Regions from separate parts of the Homo sapiens genome. Here region 2 is linked to region 1. Evidence: promoter capture Hi-C in 16 types of primary human blood cells and fetal thymus (Javierre and others, 2016). All regions are on one chromosome and are shown on one strand. Each heading gives the region's core, a stretch centred on a gene start or on the middle of the fragment in contact. The rest is flanking DNA. Distances are from core to core; before and after follow the strand shown. Region 1 holds the start of FMO4 (flavin containing dimethylaniline monoxygenase 4). Region 2 overlaps MROH9 (maestro heat like repeat family member 9).

The links. Contacts are between HindIII fragments. The CHiCAGO score rates a contact against its expected background, and 5 or more counts as called.
Region 2: a fragment that was not itself captured here is called in contact with the fragment with the promoter of FMO4 in region 1 in 3 of 17 cell types (naive B cells, non-activated CD4 T cells and total B cells); the score reaches 5.9 in naive B cells.

Annotation. Positions count from the first base shown.
Region 1 is chr1:171,312,847-171,317,063 of GRCh38, forward strand. FMO4 (flavin containing dimethylaniline monoxygenase 4) reads left to right here and starts at 1,337. Exons shown (of 10, transcript NM_002022.3): 1 at 1,337-1,567; 2 at 3,340-3,481. The HindIII fragment of the contact is 2,730 bases long and covers 1-2,641 here.
Region 2 is chr1:170,956,457-170,960,675 of GRCh38, forward strand. MROH9 (maestro heat like repeat family member 9) reads left to right here. Exons shown (of 22, transcript NM_001163629.2): 4 at 2,005-2,084; 5 at 3,006-3,141. Among named protein-coding and RNA genes, the nearest start is that of MROH9, 23 kb to the left of the region's middle. The HindIII fragment of the contact is 1,584 bases long and covers 705-2,288 here.

The sequences.
Region 1 (4,217 bases), core at 87-2,586:
AAAGGTCCGCAGCTCCATTCTTGAAGTCAGGGAGACCAGGAACCCACCGGAAGGAACTAACTCTGGACACAATATTTTTTTTTCTTTTTTTAAATTTTTTTCTTTATTTCTTCTAAAAAAAAGTGGGATGCATGTGCAGAACGTGCAGGTTTGTTGCATAGGTACACGTGTGCCATGGTGATTTGCTGCACCTATTGACCTGTTCTCCTCTAAGTTCCCTCTCCTCACCCCCTACCCTACAACAGGCCCTACAACATTCCCCTCTCTGTGTCCATGTGTTCTCATTGTTCAACTCCCACTTATGAGTGAGAACATGCAGTGTTTGGTTTTCTGTTCCTGTGTTAGTTTGCTGAGGATGATGGCTTCCAGCTTCATCCATGTCCCTGCAAAGGACATGATCTTATTTCTTTTTATGGCTGCATAATATTCCATGATATTTTTCAAAAGAAAATATTTGCTGCCAACAGAAGATTTTATATTAAAATCTGTATTTGCAGCTTTTACTGAAAAGAACCTAAGGCCTTGCCATATTGGGCTCATTTTCTCAAATAGCAACATTTAGCTGAACTGAATAGACAGAGAAAGTACTTTCCAGTCAGATCATATCTGGCCCACTTTCCTCGTGTATGTTACCCTCCTCACTCCTGTAGGCATTTGCATGTGTAGTCACAAGCAAATGTGGTTTAGAAATTGTTCAGTGAACCATGTTGGAAAATGTCCCTAAACACAAGTCCTAAAGATGGTCTGTTATATTATCTTACAAGCACACAGTGGAAGGAAAAACAGTTAAGTTTTCTATTTCTGCCACAGCTTCTATAATTATTACCTTTCTTGTGCCCTAGGTTAATATCTAAAAATAGCTTTATGCTTTCTCAAACACATTTCACCAGCTCCCTCTGCTGATCCAATCTGAAGGACAAAACAGCTTAAATTCCTTGTAAGTCCTGAACTTTAAAATCACATTTCTGGGGTTGGAGAACTCCAAGCATGAAAGAACTTGATGAGGTAATGGTCATCTAAATAACTTTCTCCTTTGGACAGCTCCTATGGTAATCCAAGCAAGAGTCAGGGTGTAGAAGTTTGTTTCCAAAAGTAGAACTCCTGTTTCGCTGAGAAAGCTGTAATTTGGGGTGATTTGGCGCCCTCTACAGACTATAATGGCAAAAGCGACGCTATCATGTGCTTCCCATAGCTTTAGGGCTTTGCCAGAACTATGACGTTGAGGAGGGTGGGGTAAAGGGGCAGGAAGCGTTTATGTTCTGCCAATCCAACAGCTGTATTCTAACTCACCATTCCGCCCTCCCTTAAGATCACGGAAGTATCACGCTTGCCTCTTACACAACTTTTTTTCCTTAGTCTGTATACTTTCTGCTGTCACTAGCATAACAGAAAAGACGAATGGCTTTTGTTTTAAACTGAGGGCACTTTTACAAAAGTCATCTTTCCATTTATTTTTCTTTCAGAAAAAAGAATTTGGGTTTTGAGCTTTTTTAAAAAAAAAAGACAAACACTTTCCTTGACTTTGAGAAATAATTTAAGTCAAAGAATCTGCTCTATGCTAACCAAGGTAAGTGTCCTGGATTTTTTTTTTAATGGGGAAATGATCCAGAAACTGCTTTCACAAAAGATGAATGTTTTTCTTGGAGTGTGTTCCTTAAGAATGAATGTGATTATCTTCTTTTGGGGTCTCTTGACTAGGGCTAAAGCAAGAGAATTAAGGAGAGAGTCAGGAAGCAAAGGGAAGTTGTAAGGAAACAAAGTTATGTTGTGGACAGAACCATCCAAAAGGAAAGTGTCAGTGAGATAAACAGAATCATGAGACTTTCAGTGACTCCAGTGACCTCTGATTTCATCTTATGAATGAGATGGAAATGCCAGCCATTGGGAAACAAATACCCCATAGATGGCGTGGGAAAAAAATACTGTAACAAAGCAAGAGCATGGTAGGATGATGATAAGAAACATAAAATGATCAAATTTCAAATTCAAAGAAATCATAATTGATTACATGATTTGCAAATCACCCAAGTCTCTCCATGTCTCATAAAGGATTCCTACATTTGCTGGTCAGTCAGGTATAGGGTGGGGTTTTCCCGTTGTACAAAGGTCTAGTTCAATAGGTCAGGTCTCCTTTCTGCCAAGGGACTAAATATAAGCAACCTATGGCTGGCACGGTGGCTCACGCCTGTAATCCCAGCACTTTGGAAAGCCGAGGAGGGCAGACCACTTGAGATCAGGAGTTTGAGACCAGCCTGACCAACATGGTGAAACCCCGTCTCTACTAAAAATACAAAAATTATCCAGGCGTGGTGCCGCCTGCCTGTAGTCTCAGCTACTCAGGAGGCTGAGGCAGGAGAATCACTTGAACCCAGGAGGTGGAGGTTGCAGTGAGCCGAAATTGTGCCACTGCATTCCAGCCTGGAAGACAGAGTGAGACTCCAACTCAAATAAATAAATAAATAAATATAAGCACCTTTGAGCAACCAAGTACCTTATGAAGTCCACTTTATAGTTTGCAGAGTTTGCACACACGTTCTCCCAATCCTTCAAGCCTGCAGTATTCTCGCCTACCTTTGAATTCATATCTTTTTTTTTTTGTGCACCAATTACTTGGTTTTCAGACATAAGAACAGTCCTTTCAAGCTTGAAGGAAACAAAGAGAAAGCCACTTGAACCCTCTGTTTTACAAATGTGGAAGCACTGGCTCAGAGAAATTGAGAATTGTGTCCAGGGTTACAAGCTGCTTAGAGGCAGAAGCAGAACTAGAACTCAGATCTCTCAATTTCCAGTTCACTCACTACCTTCCTCTACTGACTCAAGGCAAAATTTAAAAAGGTTGCTCCCATTCAGAAATTTATAGTCTGTAAATACGGATTAATTTTAAAAGGTGCTAATTCCCAATTTGTTTCTACTGCCTGTAGAGTCTCTAAGTCAGTCCTTAAAGTGCTTTTGCCCAGCACGTTTTTAACCCCACAGGCCACTCTGTGTCACTAACTAGGTCTCTAGACAGGGATAATAAACAGGCCAGGAGAGTGCAAGCATTCATGCCTAGAGCATGCTGCTACCATAGGACTTAGCACAAGGTAGTATCAGCCTCTCCATATACAACATCTTAAGAGCAGTCACGGTCTTTTTTAAATTCTAAGACTTTACTACTATTTCTTAGTTGCAGGGTCTTCATTATCTTCAGGGCCCCATACTTAGCTTAGGACCTGCACTTAGAGGTACCCAGGGCATATTTGTTGAATGAATTAATTTGCTTCCAGTCTATTCACGTCAGTATATTTTTCACTTTGGCAATTCAGTTAGCAGTCATTTCTTTTTACCTTATGATTGCAGAGATAGAGCACAGCAAAGATCTGCCAGCCCCAGGCCTCTACCTAGTGGCCTGGAAATTCAAGTATTCTTATTGGTGGAGGCCATTTGTTTCTGATTAGAAGCTGTCTAAACCTCCTACTCCTCAACTCAAAGGAAAACACAGGTATGTCTGCCTACTCCTTTCCAAACTTGTTGATACATTTTATCTGTATGAACTGTCTTTTCCAAGGAGAAGAGAAGGAAGACAGGAGACAAGTAGGGAGGTAGAGAATGAACACTGAGTAAATATTTTGTGCAAGGCACTTTTTTGTGTAAGTAATATCAAGTTTTTTAAAATGCAAACAATCCTTCAACATAGATATTTTTATTATTTTACAAATAATATATCTAAGGTTGCTTCAGTCGGTTGCTCAGGGTCATATGGCTAGTTGGTAGCAGAGAAAGTTCAAACCCAACTCTGCTGCCTCCAAAATCCATTTTCATTGCATTCCATATAGCTCTCTCAACTAAATAGGGACTCCCAAATAAAAAGTCTAAGAGGAAAAATGATGCATTTTTTAATACATAATGAAGCCAGGTATGGCAATCTCAGCCTTACAAAGGCAAGGCAGCAAATACATTCAGAAATTGGCAGCCCTAGGAAATCCTTCTGATCCTCATTGCAAGTTCATGAATCTGCCTTAGGGTCAGGTAAGTCTAAGGGTTCCTGGAGGACTCAGGAGTCTTTCTTTACTCCCTCCAGTCAGTAAATTCTCTTAGATTTTGTGCCTGGGGCTTCTGATCTGATTAAGAGACAAGCTACAGAGCCATAGAGAAAAACTCCAAGCCCATCCCAAAGGTGCAGCAGCAAACCTGAGCAAAGATGAAGGAAGAGGCTTAGTGACGGGAACCACAGGATA
Region 2 (4,219 bases), core at 247-2,746, 360 kb before region 1:
TGTTTCCTTTTGTTTGTGTCATCTATGATTTATTTCAGCAGTGTTTTGCAGTTTTTCTTGCAGAGGTCTTTTGACTACTTGGTTAGGTATATTCCTAAGTTGTTGTTGGTTTGTTTTTCTCTTTCCTTTTTTTTTTTTGTTTTTTTTTTTTTTTGCAGCCATTGTAAAAGGGGTTGAGTTCTCGATTTGATTCTCCCCTTGGTCGCTGTTGGTATATAGAAGAGCTACTGATTTGTGTACATTAATCTTGTATCTGGAAACTTTGCTGAATTCTTTTATCAGCTCTAGGAGCTTTCTGGAGGAGTCTTTAGGGTCTTCAAGGTAAACGATCACATCGTCAGCAAACAGTGACCGTTTGACTTCTTTACAGATTTGGATGCCCTTTATTTCTTTCTCCTGCCTGATTTCTCTGGCTAGGACTTCCAGTACTATGTTGAAGAGGAGTGGTGAGAGTGGGCATCCTTGTCTTGTTCCAGTTCTCAGAGGGACTGCTTTTTGTATGTATTTTTTGGAAAAAGTTTTATTCAGGTCTTTTGCCCATTTGTAATTGGATTATCTGCTTTTTTTTTTTTTTGCCATTGAATCATGAGTTTCTTATACATTTTGGATATTAACCCCTTATCTGATTTATGTTTTACAAATATTTTATCCCATTCCATAGGTTGTCTTTCTAATTTTATTAATTGTTCTCTTTGCTGTGCAGAAGCTTGTTAGTTTGATGTAGTCCCACTTGTTTAATTTTGCTTTTGTTGCCTGTGCTTTTTACGTCATATCCAAAAAATCTTCACCGAAACTAATGTAAATAAGCTCTTTCCCTATGTTTTCTTCTAGGTGTTTTACAGTTTCACTTCTTTACATTTGTCTTTAACCCATTTCAAATCAACTTTTGTATATGGTAAAAGATAAGGGTCCCATTTCATTTATTTGCTTATGGACATTCAGTTTTCCCAACATCATTTATTGAAGAGACTGTCCTTTGCCCATTGTGAATTCTTGTCTCCCTTATCAAAGATTACTTGACCATATATTAATAGATTTATTTCTGGGCTTTTTATTTCATTCAATTTGTCTATGAGTCTGTTTTTATAGCAGTCCCTACAATTTTAATTACTTTTGTATTATAGCTTGAAATCATAACTGTAAGACCTCCATGTTCTTTCTTAAGATTGTTTTGGCTATTGGAGGTCTAGTTCTCCAGTTTCTTGGAAAAAAAGAATGATACATTCTTAGTGGAATCCCTTTAATTACCACTTTTAAAGGCTAAATTCTCATTCCATAGTGTAAGTTTAGTCATTCTTTAATAAGGCCTGACTTAAGTTGCCCTGCTGGCATTTTTTTGTTTTTTTTTTTTTTGTTTGTTTGTTTTTTTTGAGACAGAGTCTCTCTCTGTCACCCAGGCTGGAGTGCAGTGGGGCCATCTCGGCTCACTGCAAGCTCTGCCTCCCGGGTTCACGCCATTCTCCTGCCTCGGTCTCCCGAGTAGCTGGGACTACAGGCGCCCGCTACCACGCCCGGCTAATTTTTTTCTATTTTTAGTAGAGACGGGGTTTCACCGTATTAGCCAGGATGGTCTCGATCTCCTGACCTCGTGGTCCCCCCGCCTCGGCCTCCCAAAGTGCTGGGATTACAGGCGTGAGCCACCACGCCCGGCGCTGCTGGCATTTTTATAGGTAGACTCCACACTGTGTAGATGGGACTTAATAGTTATAGTGGTGTACAGAAGTGCATCTGGTAAAGAGCACACCTTACAAAGTGCTGTCTGGAAATGCAAATTGTATAAGCATAGTGGTTGACTGTAAAAGACCTCCACTTAGGCAAACATACTATTGTAGATTTAAATTACAGTTTGGTCTCAACACTTCTATGAACTCTTGAGCATGTTTTCCAGTCTGATTTGGTTCCTTTAGTCTCTGTAAAAGGAAGAAGTGCACATGCTATTATGAGTCTCACTGCTCTGTAATCATTAATTCTTCTTTTTTTTTTTTTTTTTAACATGGTACTTAGGCACATAAAGTTAACAGCCTATTGGATGCATACTCAGGCCTGTTAAGTAATGAATCCATGATCCTGGCTGTGAACTCCAGGTATGATAAGCTATCATGCTCTTTTATTTCACTAATTGGATGCATTTAAAATGTTATATCTTTAAAAACATGCAATTGTGAAAGATAAGAAATTACTCCAAACTTCACCATCATAATTTGGTGACTACTATTTCTTTCTTATACTCTTTCCCAGTCTTTTTGTATTGCGTAGACAAGCAGATAATCTTTCTAGCTGCTGAGGCAAGCTTCATTTGCCATCAGTTTGAAGATGCATCTCAATGTAAGAAATACTAAGATGTGAAAAACATATTATCATTGATTACAGAAAATGGGTCAGTAATATATCTCAACTGTTTAAAGCTTAGCATGGCTTTGTGGACTTGGCTGGGAATGTAACCACTCTTTGCATTATTATGTTTATGGAGAAATATATTCTGATTTCTACATAACTGTTTATAGATAATATTTGCAAAGAAATTAATTCCTTTATTTTTACAACATTATTATCATTTTTAAGAGAATATTTAAGACTCATCTGTCATACAAAGCCAAAAGCTGAACCTCATTTTTGCTTATCACTAAGAAATGGCTGGGCCAGGCACGGTGGCTCACACCTCTAATCCCAGCACTTTGGGAGGCTGAGGCGGGCGGATCATGAGGTCAGGAGATCGAGACCATCCTAGCTAACATGGTGAAACCCCGTCTCTACTGAAAATACAAAAAATTAGCCAGGCGTGGTGGCGGGCGCCTGTAGTCCCAGCTACTCAGGAGGCTGAGGCAGGAGAATGGTGTGAACCCGGGAGGTGGAGCTTGCAGTGAGCCGAGATGGCACCACTGCACTCCAGCCTGGGTGACAGAGCGAGACTCTGTCTCAAAATAAATAAATAAATAAATAAAGCCCACTAAATTTCTATTATATTTGTTTTCTCATCATTAATAATTGCTCCTTTTTCTTGTCAGCTTTGTGGATCCCTTACTGCAGTTTGAATCTCAGTTGAAGATAATAGAGTCATCCTTTGGAATGCTAGTTGTCATGCCAAGTCTTGACAAAGTAAAAGAAATGGGGAGCAGTTATGAGTACATTGAGGACATGGAGGTAAAATTTTTCTTCCTTTAATCATTATAGGATGTTATTACACATCACAGCAATCCTGCAGAATGTGACTCAGCAGGTGATAATCTTTAGGGTCCTCCTCTTCACTCTTTTTAGTTATAACAGTCAGGGCACTAATCTATACCACTGGACTCCTTGTGAGTTCTACAACCCATGGGATTTTAATGGATTCTATAGGATTTGTAGGAGCAAATAGGCGAAGATATTTTTGGTTAATTGGTTTAGCAAGAATAGGGAGTTTGCTGGCAAGTGCTTCAAAGAATGGAATAGGAACATGGAAAGATGGAAGTAGAAAGAATCCTATAGTAAAATTAGCAAACATCTGCGGTCTCCATTTCTTCAGCATTGCTATACAGTGAACTTGCTCTATAAGCTAGAGAAGAAATTCATGGCATATGATATAAAGTGAGGTCTCAGCATAGCCACCTCTCTCCTTTCTTCAGTTTGTGGAGAGAATGTACAACACTCAGATGCAAAACTATCAGGCTAATTGTTTCTTTTTATAAGAGCTTCTATACACATCTCAGAGAATTTCAGCCTCGTCTGCAATTGATGCAAGGTGACTTTAATGTAGAAACTTTCTCAGCTATGTTCCTGTATCCCTAACACAGATTTGTAGGCTGCTATTTTTTTACAAATGTGCCATTATTTTCCAACTGGACTTCTTCCAAATATTCCTGAGTGGCTACCTGAGGATACCCAGAGATACTTTTACTTTTTACTGGTGAAGACCACTCTGGTAGTTGGGAGAAGAAAAATAACTTCTGAGTTAAATAAAAGTCTTCTTCCAATACTAGAAAGAAAGAAAAAAATGTGTTGTTATATAGCATTTCATCATCCAAATGCCCCATGTTTATTAATGTTACATATATTTTATATATCAGCTACTCACACATGGAAATTTCCAATACCCACATAGCATACAATTTCTAGTACCTACATAGTGTGTGGAACAATAAATCTTACTGTTTCCATCTATTTACATATAAAATGTATTCAATATTTGGTTTCGTTTTGTTTTGTTTGAGACAGGGTCTTGCTCCTTCACCCAAACTAGAGT